Linked DNA regions of Homo sapiens: region 1 is linked to region 2. The links are contacts of gene promoters, found by promoter capture Hi-C in blood cells and fetal thymus (Javierre and others, 2016). All regions are on one chromosome and are shown on one strand. Each heading gives the region's core, a stretch centred on a gene start or on the middle of the fragment in contact. The rest is flanking DNA. Distances are from core to core; before and after follow the strand shown.

The links. The method cuts DNA at HindIII sites, captures the fragments that hold promoters and counts their contacts. A CHiCAGO score of 5 or more calls a contact.
Region 1: a contact is called between a fragment that was not itself captured here and the fragment with the promoter of TSPAN12 in region 2, in 2 of 17 cell types (erythroblasts and megakaryocytes). The highest score is 6.3, in erythroblasts.

What each region holds. Positions count from the first base shown.
Region 1 is chr7:121,101,457-121,107,215 of GRCh38, reverse strand. The region is part of intron 7 of CPED1 (cadherin like and PC-esterase domain containing 1); the gene reads right to left. Among named protein-coding and RNA genes, the nearest start is that of CPED1, 120 kb to the right of the region's middle. The HindIII fragment of the contact is 2,201 bases long and covers 3,304-5,504 here.
Region 2 is chr7:120,856,359-120,862,416 of GRCh38, reverse strand. TSPAN12 (tetraspanin 12) reads left to right here and starts at 4,273. Exons shown (of 8, transcript NM_012338.4): 1 at 4,273-4,597; 2 at 5,584-5,719. The coding sequence starts at 5,654. LOC124901733 (a long non-coding RNA gene) reads right to left here and starts at 5,582. Exons shown (of 2, transcript XR_007060491.1): 1 at 5,209-5,582. RefSeq lists silencers at 4,619-4,918, 5,111-5,330. The HindIII fragment of the contact is 3,134 bases long and covers 3,762-6,058 here.

The DNA of each region.
Region 1 (5,759 bases), core at 3,155-5,654, 240 kb before region 2:
CTCTCTAGGTGTCTGTACAGAAATGAAAACATTTAGGAAGATTGCAGGGAGTTTTGCCTTAATTCATGGTCCATTTCCCAAAGATCCATCTTAACAATCCTTTCTTGCATGAGGGTAGTGAAGAAAGGGAATACAGCTGTTCTGTCTTCGAACATCTCTACGGCTTAGCTGGCTCATCTATTAAAGAAATAATAAGAAACTAAAAAATTAAGATGGTGCTGCTCTCTATGGACGCTTAAAGTGCTTTGAAAGATTGCTTACACTAGACCTCTTTTCCCAGGCTTGGTTTTTACTCTAAACACTTGTTTATTTTATAAACTTGTTATCGGCAAGGTGTAACAGAAATCAGAGTGACATTACTGTGCTGGGCAACGGCAGAAAGAGGAAGAGCCCGCAGAGATTAATTTTTAAGAGCTTCTGTGAAGTTCACGGGCAATACACTTCCAGGATCCAGTTCAGAGAAACAACACTTGCTCTTTTCAAGTCCATAACTGGGTCCCATCCTCATCCCAGCATATACCTTCCCTTGATGGCTCCAGGGAGAAGCAGGCTGTGAACAGGACAGGTGAAGGGGAGGAGCTGAGAAGGGAAACATACATTCTATCCTCCAAAGTACTATTGAGGAACTTTTCCATCTTTCAAGCATCCAGAAGGAGGGAAGAAGGAATGAACTTACCTCACCTGATTTCACACTGAAATCCCTGAGTATTAGCTTACCTCCATTTTTCTGGATATATAATTAACACTTGCCTACTGATTTTCTAGTATTAAAGGCAATAATAATTAGCAAATTTATTCATTAGTGTTAGGTTTTACCTTTACACTGTCATAATACATTATATATATATATGTAGGCATATATACACATATATGTGTATACCTATATAAAGCATTATATAGCATCTACCTATATAAAGCATTATGTTAGTTAATTATATTTGCATATGTCTATGCGTTCATTACCCTAGTTCAGAAGGGAAAATATGCCTGAATTAACAATGATGGAATATGTAAATCCATAATACTATCTTCTGTTGTAGAACCTGCTCTTAAATCATATTTTCCCCAAATGGCAGTTTTTAATAAGTTATTATTAATGAGGTACCTTTAATTAAAATAAGGATGATAGACAACGATTCACTGATAAACATTTTTGAGCATCTGCCATGCGCCAGGAACTCTGTGAGGCTCTGGAAATGCAAACACATTGCTTGCCTTTTTGAGGCTTAGAGTCATCTGCTTAAGTTATCATTTTGGCCAGATAAAGATGATCATCATTAATGAATAGTTTTCTTTACATTTAGGATAATCATCCAAGTTCAGCCTTCAGAATTAACGAATGTACAAAATGACTTGACAAATCTTTTAATAGAACCAAGTTGGGAATGAAGGAATGAATGAATGAGTGAATGAATTGCTTTTTAAAAAGACACAAAGTTGCTATAAAGAGTATTAGTGCAATCTAACATCAATGTGGGCTGATTACTTTGCAGTTATTATAAAAGTTTTTAAAGTAAGTCAGCTTTGGTCACAAGTTTATTCAATTACATGCTGGTTATTTATAATTTCTATTTATATAAAATCATACTTTAAAATGAACACCCTGATGCAATTTTAAAATTTAATTCAAGCAAAAGTAGGTTAAGTAATACGTCAACTCTTTTTACAAACTCTCAGGAGAAGACTTTTATTCACATTCTTTCTACAGCTGACATAAATCTCCCGGGCCTAGCGAAGGGCCAGATGCTCAGTCAAAAGCCTTTTACAAGGTCTGCTTCGTAGCCTGCAGTTTTGGACATAAAATGAAGATCAGGGGAAGAACACTTCCTAAGGTTGAAAAACCATACTGTCACTTTATACTTTCTTCCAAAGACATTACTCATTTTTACCTTGGGAATATATAAGCAATCTCACCCAACATTATCAAAGGCAGTGCATAAATATTGACGACAAATGAGGCTAACTTCATCCCTACAACTGTGTCATATTTCCAAAATGAATAAGGGATATATGCATCTTTTTAAAAGGAATCTTGTACATAACACCATTCCTCTCTTTGCCACAGTTCTCCTCTGCCCTCTGTGCACATTTGCTGATTGTATTGATGTGAGAGGGAACTGCAAGCACTGGAGATGGAAGAATGGTCCCCTGAAGGCCAGTGCAGCGGTGGTAGAGAGCTGGTGATTTAGAACTTACAAATCTGACTTGAAAAAAGGCTACGGTATCCCAGATTTCCCTATCTCTATCAAAGTGGCCCTTATCCAGAAATTCAGATTATGACATCTGTCTATTGCATTTACTGGAAAACAAATGATCATTTGTATAATATTTACCTATATCATGTATATATCATTGCAAAGTAGAGTGGCTGGCTTATAGCAGTTAGGGATAAAGTAGACTCAGGCAATTTCTTCATGCAGTTAAAATTTTTTTAATGACCTTTGATTCAATTCAATCGAAGAGACATTTATAGGGAGCTGATTATATGCAAGGAATCATCTTCATATAACTTTATATCTGATGTCAAATATGGAATAGCAACAAATCTAACATCTTCAAATATGGGATGGCTGATCAAACAATGAATTAATTTATGTCTTGACTGGACAAAATAAGGCTTTGGACAAGCTTTTCTGCCAGAAGTCACAAATCTCTTCAGCGATACATTTTCATAAAAATAGTCAAATATGGTCAGAAGTACAAAGAATCTTCAGACATCATAAAAAGTTACAGATATTACAGTTGCCTCTCTGTTGGGTAACTTATTTTGTGATTTACAACGGATGAAGGGATGACTTGTGACTTTTTGCTCTAAGAACCGAATTTAAATTTATGACATTTCTTGCAGTTAATCTTTATGACCTGTGTTTTAAGACAGACATAGATGCATTTAACCAAAAGTTATAGTTAGAATATTTGTGAAAGAATTTTACTCGTGAATTTATAGATACAAACTGAAGTTTTATAATTAAGAGCTTTTTAAGGGAAGACATTTTAAAATAAAATATTTCTTAAAATTAGATTTATTATACTCATCAAGTAAATGATATTGTCTTAACAGCAACAAATAGAGTTGATTTAAAATCAGATCAAATGGTATAGTAAGCAAATATTACATTTGCGAATTTTTCCCTTTCAAAACTTCCTCTGATTTTAGGTTTGAACATCCTTGGGAAACATCTAACACTAAAATTTTTAAATATTTTATTATGTAGAAGGGCATTAAAAATAGTTTACAAAGCTTCTATTTTCCATTATTCCTCAAATTTGCATTTCTTGATTTTTTTTACTCTCTCCAAAGCTTTAACAGATAAAGTATCTCAGCAGAAGACCTAATTGGAAATAAATGAGCTCATAGTTATATCTGTTATTGCCTTCATACCTTCTTTAGCTGCCAGAATGTTCTATAAATGTTCACTGATAACTAGTTTAGTGGGCTTGCCTCATCACACAGTACATAAATCACTACTGATTTAACTAAGTCATTTGGGCTTTGAATTCAGTACTCAGTACACACACACGTGCACATACACACACACACACAAAATTATGTTTTGTGGAATTTAAGGACAGTGTTTAATAACATGCTGGTATAGCGTGGGTAGTTTTTAAAGTGGGTTTGGTTTTGTCCTCCACATTAGCAGTGAGAAGTTTCTGTGTATTTTTTCACATCTAAAAATACCAGTAGAAAGCAGTATTTCTGAGGATGGTTAAGTAATTTAACAGATGAGTTATAATCTATTTGTTTTAACTGAAATAACAAGTACATCAGTTGAAGGGTAAATAAATATCCTCTTGTTTTCTGAAACTTATCTGTATCATCAAGCGTAACTTTGAACTAGTAAGGAAACAATCACTTTCTCCACATTGACCCAGGAAGCTGCACTACCTCCCTCTGAGGAGATAACAGTATTGTCCAGAATAATCAGGCAAGATCTTGAAAAGATAAATCCCAAGGAGAGGATGAAAATGACAAGAACTGCATGCTTTCCTATGCTACAACCGCAGCTTGCATCTGTCTCACAGAAAAGACAAAAATATGAATAAGAAAGGAGATAGTGAATGAAGCATGAAAATCTAAAGAAAACCAGATCACAAGGAGATTTCTTTTTTCATTTATTTTCAGGAAATACATAAATAAAAACTATCATAAAAATTAGCCTGTTATTTGTATCAGGGTAGGGGGAGCGGCACTTACATACAAAGAGGAAAAATACTTTAAAAATTATTTAAAATACCTAAGAGCTTCAGTTTCCTGTTAAGATGATTCACTAGCCCAGGTGAAATGAGAATGAAGCAAGAATTTGATAACAAAGAAAAATAACAAACACCTCTTTGAAAGGGAGTCTAGAGCTATTGTGAACTGGTCTGACCAGTGGTAGCCACGGTCAGGGATAAGTGGAGTTGGGGGAGGGGAGTTGTTGGAGGCTATTTGAGAGGACAGGCTGAAGGAAAATATTTTCGTTTTCCTCCTAACTCTCCCCTGTCTTCCTCTAGGGCAATTATTGGTTGTTCCTTCCTTGTTAAGGATGCTAAGCCCAGGCCCAGGATTCAGATTGCTAAATTTCTTGGGAGAAAGGAGGAAAAACTGTATGGAGTTACTGGTCACATGTGGCATTCACTCCTCCACCCTACTGTCTGTCAACCTTCAGCCTTGATGACATATAACGGAGGAAGATGTGCTTCCTCCCTGTGCTTTTATGCCTAAGAGAGTTTAGGGGGTGAAATTCTGACCAGGGAAGTTACCTGGCTACAAAGGGAAGTGACCAAAAGTGGTTTCTTCATGTTTGGAGCACATTCTGTCCCTTCTCCTTGGATTCACCTGAAAGGACTGACCTTCCCCAAACATCATACTAGCTGGAATAAATAATGTCTGCAGGAGGACTTAAGCTCAAAGGACAAAATAGAGAATGCACAAAAAATACAGCTACTTCAAAAGAAAGGCAACAAACTGAACAATATATATCATGCTACCAAAACTGATAGATGAGGAATTTAAAATAAGCATGCCAGCAATATACTCAAGGAAATAATGGAAGATAGTAGCAAAATAAAATGTGAAAAAGAAGTCATTAAAAAGAACAAAGAGGAAATATGGTAAAAAATATCAGAAGTAAATAAAAATATACATAGTTTTTAAGTGAAGGGGCATGAGCATTTAAGTTATACATGCAGCATTAAATAAATAACTGAAATACAAGAAACAACGGATGAGACAGCAACAAAGCTATAGCGTAAGAAGGATTTTGATATAATTTGGATATTTGCCCCCTCCAAATCTCATGTTGAAATATGATCCCCAATGTTGGAGGTGGGGCCTGCTGGGAGGTATTTGGGTTGCAGGTGTGGATCACTCATGAATGGCTTGGTGCCTTCCCTGTGGTGAGTTCTCCCTCTATTAGTTCACAGGAGAGCTTGGTTTAAGAGCCTGGCATCTCTCTTGCTCCCTCTCTCACTATGTGACATGCCTGCTCCCACTTTGCCTTCCACCATCAGTGGAAGCTTCTTGAGGCCTCACCAGAAGCCAAGCAGATGCTGGTTCCATACTTGTACAGCCTGCAGAACCATGAACTAAATAAACATTTTTCTTTATACATTTCCCAGCCTCACGTGTTCCTTTATAGCAATGCAAAAACGGACACAGATTGTACGATTCAAAAGATAAGATTGAAGAACTGTCTCAGAAAACAGAAATGCTTCCAGAAAGCAGATAAGAAAAGCCAAATAATATAAATAGAAATGGAAGGATCAAATCTGGT
Region 2 (6,058 bases), core at 3,024-5,523:
GTGCTTTAGAGAAGGGCTGTCCCAGGCACAGGTAATACATCTTGATTGGTTTAAAACCTGGCCAGTCATGGTGGCTCACACCTGTAATCCTAGCACTTTGGGAGGCTGAGGTGGGTGGATCACCTTAGGACAGGAGTTTGAGACCAGCCTGGGCAACATGGTGAAACTCTGTCTCTACAAAGACAAAATTAGCACGACGTGGTGGTGCATACCTGTAGTCCCAGCTTCTCGAGAGGCTAAGGCATGAGAATCACTTGAACTCGGGAGGCAGAGGTTAAGTGAGCAGAGATGGAGCCACTACACTCAAGCCTGGGTGACAGAGTGAGACTCTGTCTCAAACAAAACAAAACAAAACAAAACAAAACAAAACAAAACAAACCAGTTATGGTAGAACCATAGTTCTTGTGAATAATTGGTAGATATATGAGTATGTGACCAGGTTCTAGCCAATCAATCAAAGGGATAATCTGCTGCAGAACTCCTGGGAGAGGTTTGCTAGATCCTAAGAGAAACTCATAGGAGAAAATACCTTCTTCCTTTGGAAGTAATGGTAACTGAAAATGATGCTTGAATTTGCACAGCCATCTTGTGACCATAAGAGGAGGTACCTGAGTATAGTATGATTACTCATTGTGTGTGTCAGGAGAGTAAGGAGGAAAAAGAACTGATTCCTTGATATCACTACTGGGCAGATGAATCGCTATTCCTGGACTCATTGTTATGTGAAACATATTTGTTTTTGTGGCTCTTTGAGTGCATTTGCTAGTTTGCATAGGGAGGCCAGATTCAACTAATACAAATGTAGGGTTTGCAATTCAATTTGAATTTCAGGTAGACATTGAATAATTTTTTAGTATATGTATGTCCAGTGCAATATTTGTCCCATGCAACATTTGGGACATGCCTATACCAAAAAATAAAAAATTGTTGTTTATCTGAAATTTAAATCTAATGAGGTGTCTTGTATTTTATCTGGCAATCCTAAGCTTACAGTAGAAAGCAGTCTACTTAATTCAGTAATGAAAGGATTTTCTCAGGTCTTATTAGGTCTGTATACTCTTTTAGAAGTGAGGTGAAAGTAGATTTACCAGTCATAGTTTAAGTACACATATTTGAATTTCAGCTTCATATTCTCGAAAACTAACTTTAAAAAGTTCGAAAATTTTCCTCTTAAGTCTTGTCCAACCAGATTTGAAATTTTATTGTAATGCAGATAAACAGTGGAAAGAATCAGACAGATCTTAGAATCTCAGCTTCTTTATTTACTACCTGTGTGGGTCTGGCAAAAATCAGCTATCTGAATTGATTTCAAGTATCTCAACATATAGTTATGAGGAATTAATAAGATAAATTGTGAGAAGCACCTATTATGTCAGACACATGTAATTTGTTCAAAACACATTAGGTGTCTATCCCATATTAATTGTAAAGTACTGGCTTAGGAGTACTTGTGAGGGTCTTGTACTAAGAAGGAATAGCAACTCATACATCCAAACTCCTGTGTTATCCTTTTTCTCTCCACAACTTTAGCAGAATGAATAGAATAAGATATGAACAAACAAGCTGCCATACGGAGTGAGGAACTTGTATTCTCTTACATATAGCTGAGTTTTACTCCTGACACTGGGACTGACATGTATGTGATTCCTTGTAAATGCTTATTTTATTACTTTTTGATGTCATTATTATTGTTATTATTATTATATAATAAGAAAGGATAGTTTTGCCTTTTCTTGGAGGGTAAGAACTTGTCTTAGTATCTTCAGCATGAGGCACAGTAGATACCACCACTGAAATGATACTTATTGGAGAACACCTGGCCACAGAATTGGGTTCCTGACTAATGGGTAGTAAATAGACCATACAATTTTCCTAATATGTTATTACATATTCAAATTTTTATGTGCATATTATGATATTTCTATCCTCCTTTTGTTCACACACACAAAAAAACAGATCTCACAGAGAAAAATATAGAACCCTCAGAATGACAGCTGCGATGTGAAGTCTTACTGTGCTTCCACAATTCTGGGAAAGAGAAGAATTGGAGAGGGAGGGAAGAACAGCTGCCTTCAAGTAGTTGAAGGGCTGTCATATGGGAGGAAGGCTTGCTCATGCCATGGACTCCAAGGGCGGAACTAAGGTTGAAGGGTAGAAGTTAAAAGGTGGTATGGTCAAGTTTAAGCAATAAAAACTGCCCATTACTGCAATGTCTCAAATGTGGTGAGGTCTCCTCTACTGAAATGTTGATTCACTGTCTCTGATGACCATTTATCAGGAATATTAGAGCAGTAACTACAGCTCTGTTTTCTTCTTAACTTGTAAAATGGGGATAATAATCCCAATTTATCGACTCACAGGAGAGGGATTTGATCCAACGAAATCTAAAGAGACCCTTTTGCTAGTTTTTAGGCAGCTGTAAAGCCCTCGTTGCAGGGTTTTCAAATTTTGCTGCAAACTAGAATTACCTTGGGAGCTTGGAAAACCCTGTGTGTCTAGGCCTCACCTGCAGAGACTCCGATTTAAGTGGTATCAGGCATGCCAGAGAATTAGGGTTGTTTCAAAGCTCTCCAAGTGATTCTCGTGTACAACAATTTCGAGAACCATTAAACTAGAGTACTAAGAGCCATTATTCTGGATTTTACTTTGGAATCTAGGTTGGACTACAGATGTGACGTTGAGCAACTACTTTATCTTGGATCTGTATTTCTTGTTTACCAGGAAGAAGAGGACATGCATACTTCTAAAGTAACTTCCTCTAGTATTTTATTACTTTAAGGCAGTTGACCCTTAAAGGTATACGAATTAAGGAAAGGGCACTTAACTACCTTCTAGGAGTAGAAGAGGATCTCTGCTTTGACACATGGGAATTGTTGGCACTCTTTTTCTCAGTTTTAATAGCAGTCATGGACTCCTTTCAATGCGGGGATGTTTATACCTCTCCGGGGAATGTATGGCACCAACAGCATTTGGATGGCTGGTTGTTTCAGCAGTCCTTTGCTTAAAATAGGCATGCACCCTAATTTGAGAAGAAACTGGCAGAGGATAAAAGTGGGTTTCTTTGCTCTTCCCCAGTATTCTAGAAGCTGCTTCATTATCAGAGTTGGAGTCATCTGATGGATAACTGGACATGTTTCTTGGTGTTTTTTTTGTGTATGGCTATACTTCTTTATACTCTTTTGGGTTGCTGTCTTACATACTGCTTAGTGACTTGCTTACCAATAATTTTCCTAGCCTAACCCAGGACAACCATGTTGTCTTTTGGTCTTGACTTTTCCATATGAGACTGCATGTCTTATTGTCACTCCAGTCATGCAGCAACTAACTCTAGACAGGCAGTCATGGACATAGGATTCCATTTTTTTTTTTTTTTTTTTTTCTGCAAGGAAATCCAAGGACTCCAGTTATTAGGTCAAAGATGTTGCTCGTATTCCAGGTAATTCATATTTGCTGGTGAAGTTTTATTTGCCATGCAGTGCCCACAAAAGTAATCCTAGAAATGAGCAGTACTGTGAGGCATAGCACAACACATCCACATTTTATGTGGAGGATATGATCCAGTGGCATTTTATTTAGTGTGAAACTTCTGTCTTCTAAAAGGGAAGATTCTTTTGGAAGGATGGTCTCCTGCTGTGTAATACTTCATGAATTTCTAGTTTAAAAAAATTAGATTTTCCAAAGATCCACTACTATGTACACATTTCAAAATAAATCACCCAGTTAACTCAAAACAATCTTATCGTGAGAAATTTTGGAAAGCTTGAGTTACTTCTAAGAGTTAAAAATGTTCTTTCCTCCTCTTCTGCATGTCAGACTGCACATGATTACTCTGATGTTTCCGTAAATGCTATTAGTGCACTATGAAAGTGGGAAAGAACTTAAAAAAAAAAAAATCCGGGAGGGCAACAAAGCAATAAGAAGGATCATAGGGCACCATGTTAATAACAAATCACAGGAGGTGGCTCCATAAAGGTTGTGAAAACTAGTTTCTCATTGCAGGAATTGGGTTGGGCCACCCCTTCACCCCCCTTCTCAAACACAAATATTATCATATAATAAAAGCCTGCTTCTCTATGCTTATAACCCAGCCTCCATTCCTTCGACGCCACCATTTTAAAGGGATTTACTGCACGGACTTCTCCCAAGTTCCTAGGCATTATCTTCTGGACCCTATCCTGCAGAGGTGAAGCGTCCCTTTGGGGACTCTCGCTGGGTGAGAGGGACAAGAAACACCCACTAGGACCCAACCCCGGCAGCCAGCGGCTCGAGCATGCGCTGAGAGTTTGTGCAGCTGGCCCTGGCTGCCGCCGCTGCCTCGTCCGGACTCGGAGAGGACTTGGGAGGGACAGCGGCGCTGGGAGGTGGCTTAGCAGAGACTTTCCAGCAACTGCTGCCCAGGACTTTTTTTTTTTTTTTTCTTTTTCCCAGGAGGCGGCGACGGCGGCGGCGGGGGGAGAGGAAGAGAAAGAAGCGTCTCCAGCTGAAGCCAATGCAGCCCTCCGGCTCTCCGCGAAGAAGTTCCCTGCCCCGATGAGCCCCCGCCGTGCGTCCCCGACTATCCCCAGGCGGGCGTGGGGCACCGGGCCCAGCGCCGACGGTAAGTGGCCACGCGTCTGTCGCCTTTCCTGCCCGCTGTCCCGCCAGCCCGCCGGCGGCTGCCCTCCGCGCTGTGTGCTAAACTACTTAAGGGCTGGCTCTGGGGCTCCCTGCCGCCGGCGCTTCCCCTCGCGCCCTGCCGGGGGCGCGCGGACGCGATGGCTGGGTCGGTGGCCGCGCTCGCTTTGTGCTCCGCGGGCGGCTTTGAGCGAGGGGTCGCGGGAGCGTCCCGGGCGGGGGAAGCGGGGTTTGAATGACTAACCCGGCGTCTGCACAGCTGCATCGGCCCTAATTCCCCGGCGCCCCCCGCCCCCCGCCCACTGTCCCAGGCTAATCCATCATTCTGGGGCCGAAAACATCATTTCTCACGTTCTCCCAGAGAAACCCTAGTAGCCGGGCGGAATCTCAACTCCGCGCTGCCCCCTCGCCCCCGCCCCCGCCCCCGCCCCGCCGCCCCAGTCCCTTGCATTCACACCCGAGCTGCGGGACGGGGTAGAGGGGTGCGGAGTTGGAGTGCCCAGGAACTGTCCTAACTAGAAGGGCGCTCATTCTCTCGGGCTTGCCGGTGGCGCCTCTGACGTGTCCGGGGTAGGGGGCAGTGTGGTTTCTCACCTTCAGGACAGTGCCGAGCACAGCTGTCCTCGAGGAGGGGCGTGGAGTGAGGGAGGTTTTCAAGAGCGTCTCATCAGAATGCACAGGGCTCCGCCGCGTGTCCCCTGAGAACGCGAGTTTACTGTGCGACTTCATTCATCCGGATAGTTGCTCTTTTCTTTTCCCAGCAGGTGTTATCTGAAGCCGGTTTGGAACTTTTGGGAGTTTAGTTACCATTATGATTTTAACAAATGATTTTTGATGAGGCGATGTCTCGAATGCACTGGGCCTCGGGACCCTCTGGACCCTGCTGAGGGCGGGTGGAGGAGGGACGGGCAGGCTGTGGGAAGCGTGATGGTGAGATGTCCCGTGTTCTCTCTCCCCCGCCCCCTGCAGATCGCTGCCGTTTTGCCCTTGGGAGTAGGATGTGGTGAAAGGATGGGGCTTCTCCCTTACGGGGCTCACAATGGCCAGAGAAGATTCCGTGAAGTGTCTGCGCTGCCTGCTCTACGCCCTCAATCTGCTCTTTTGGGTAAGTAAGTTTCACTGCACCAACAGGTGGGAACGGCTGGCTCTGGTTTTCTGCAGCCACCGGATAATGCGCCAAAGGGCATGGCTAAGCATTAATTAATTACATGGGATAACACCCTTTATTTTTCAGAGAAGTAAAATTTGACCTTCTTAAAATGCCTTTGATCTAGCTCAAGTTCCATTTGTAATTAGAACAAAGAAATCCACCCCTGGATACTACTGGCAGTAAAATTAGACTTGAAGTTAATCTAGGGATATAAATAAATGCACGTGCTTCTACTCATAGATAAGAAAATTATGACATACTACTTAGGGAACTGCTTGTTTGCGGGAATTTTAG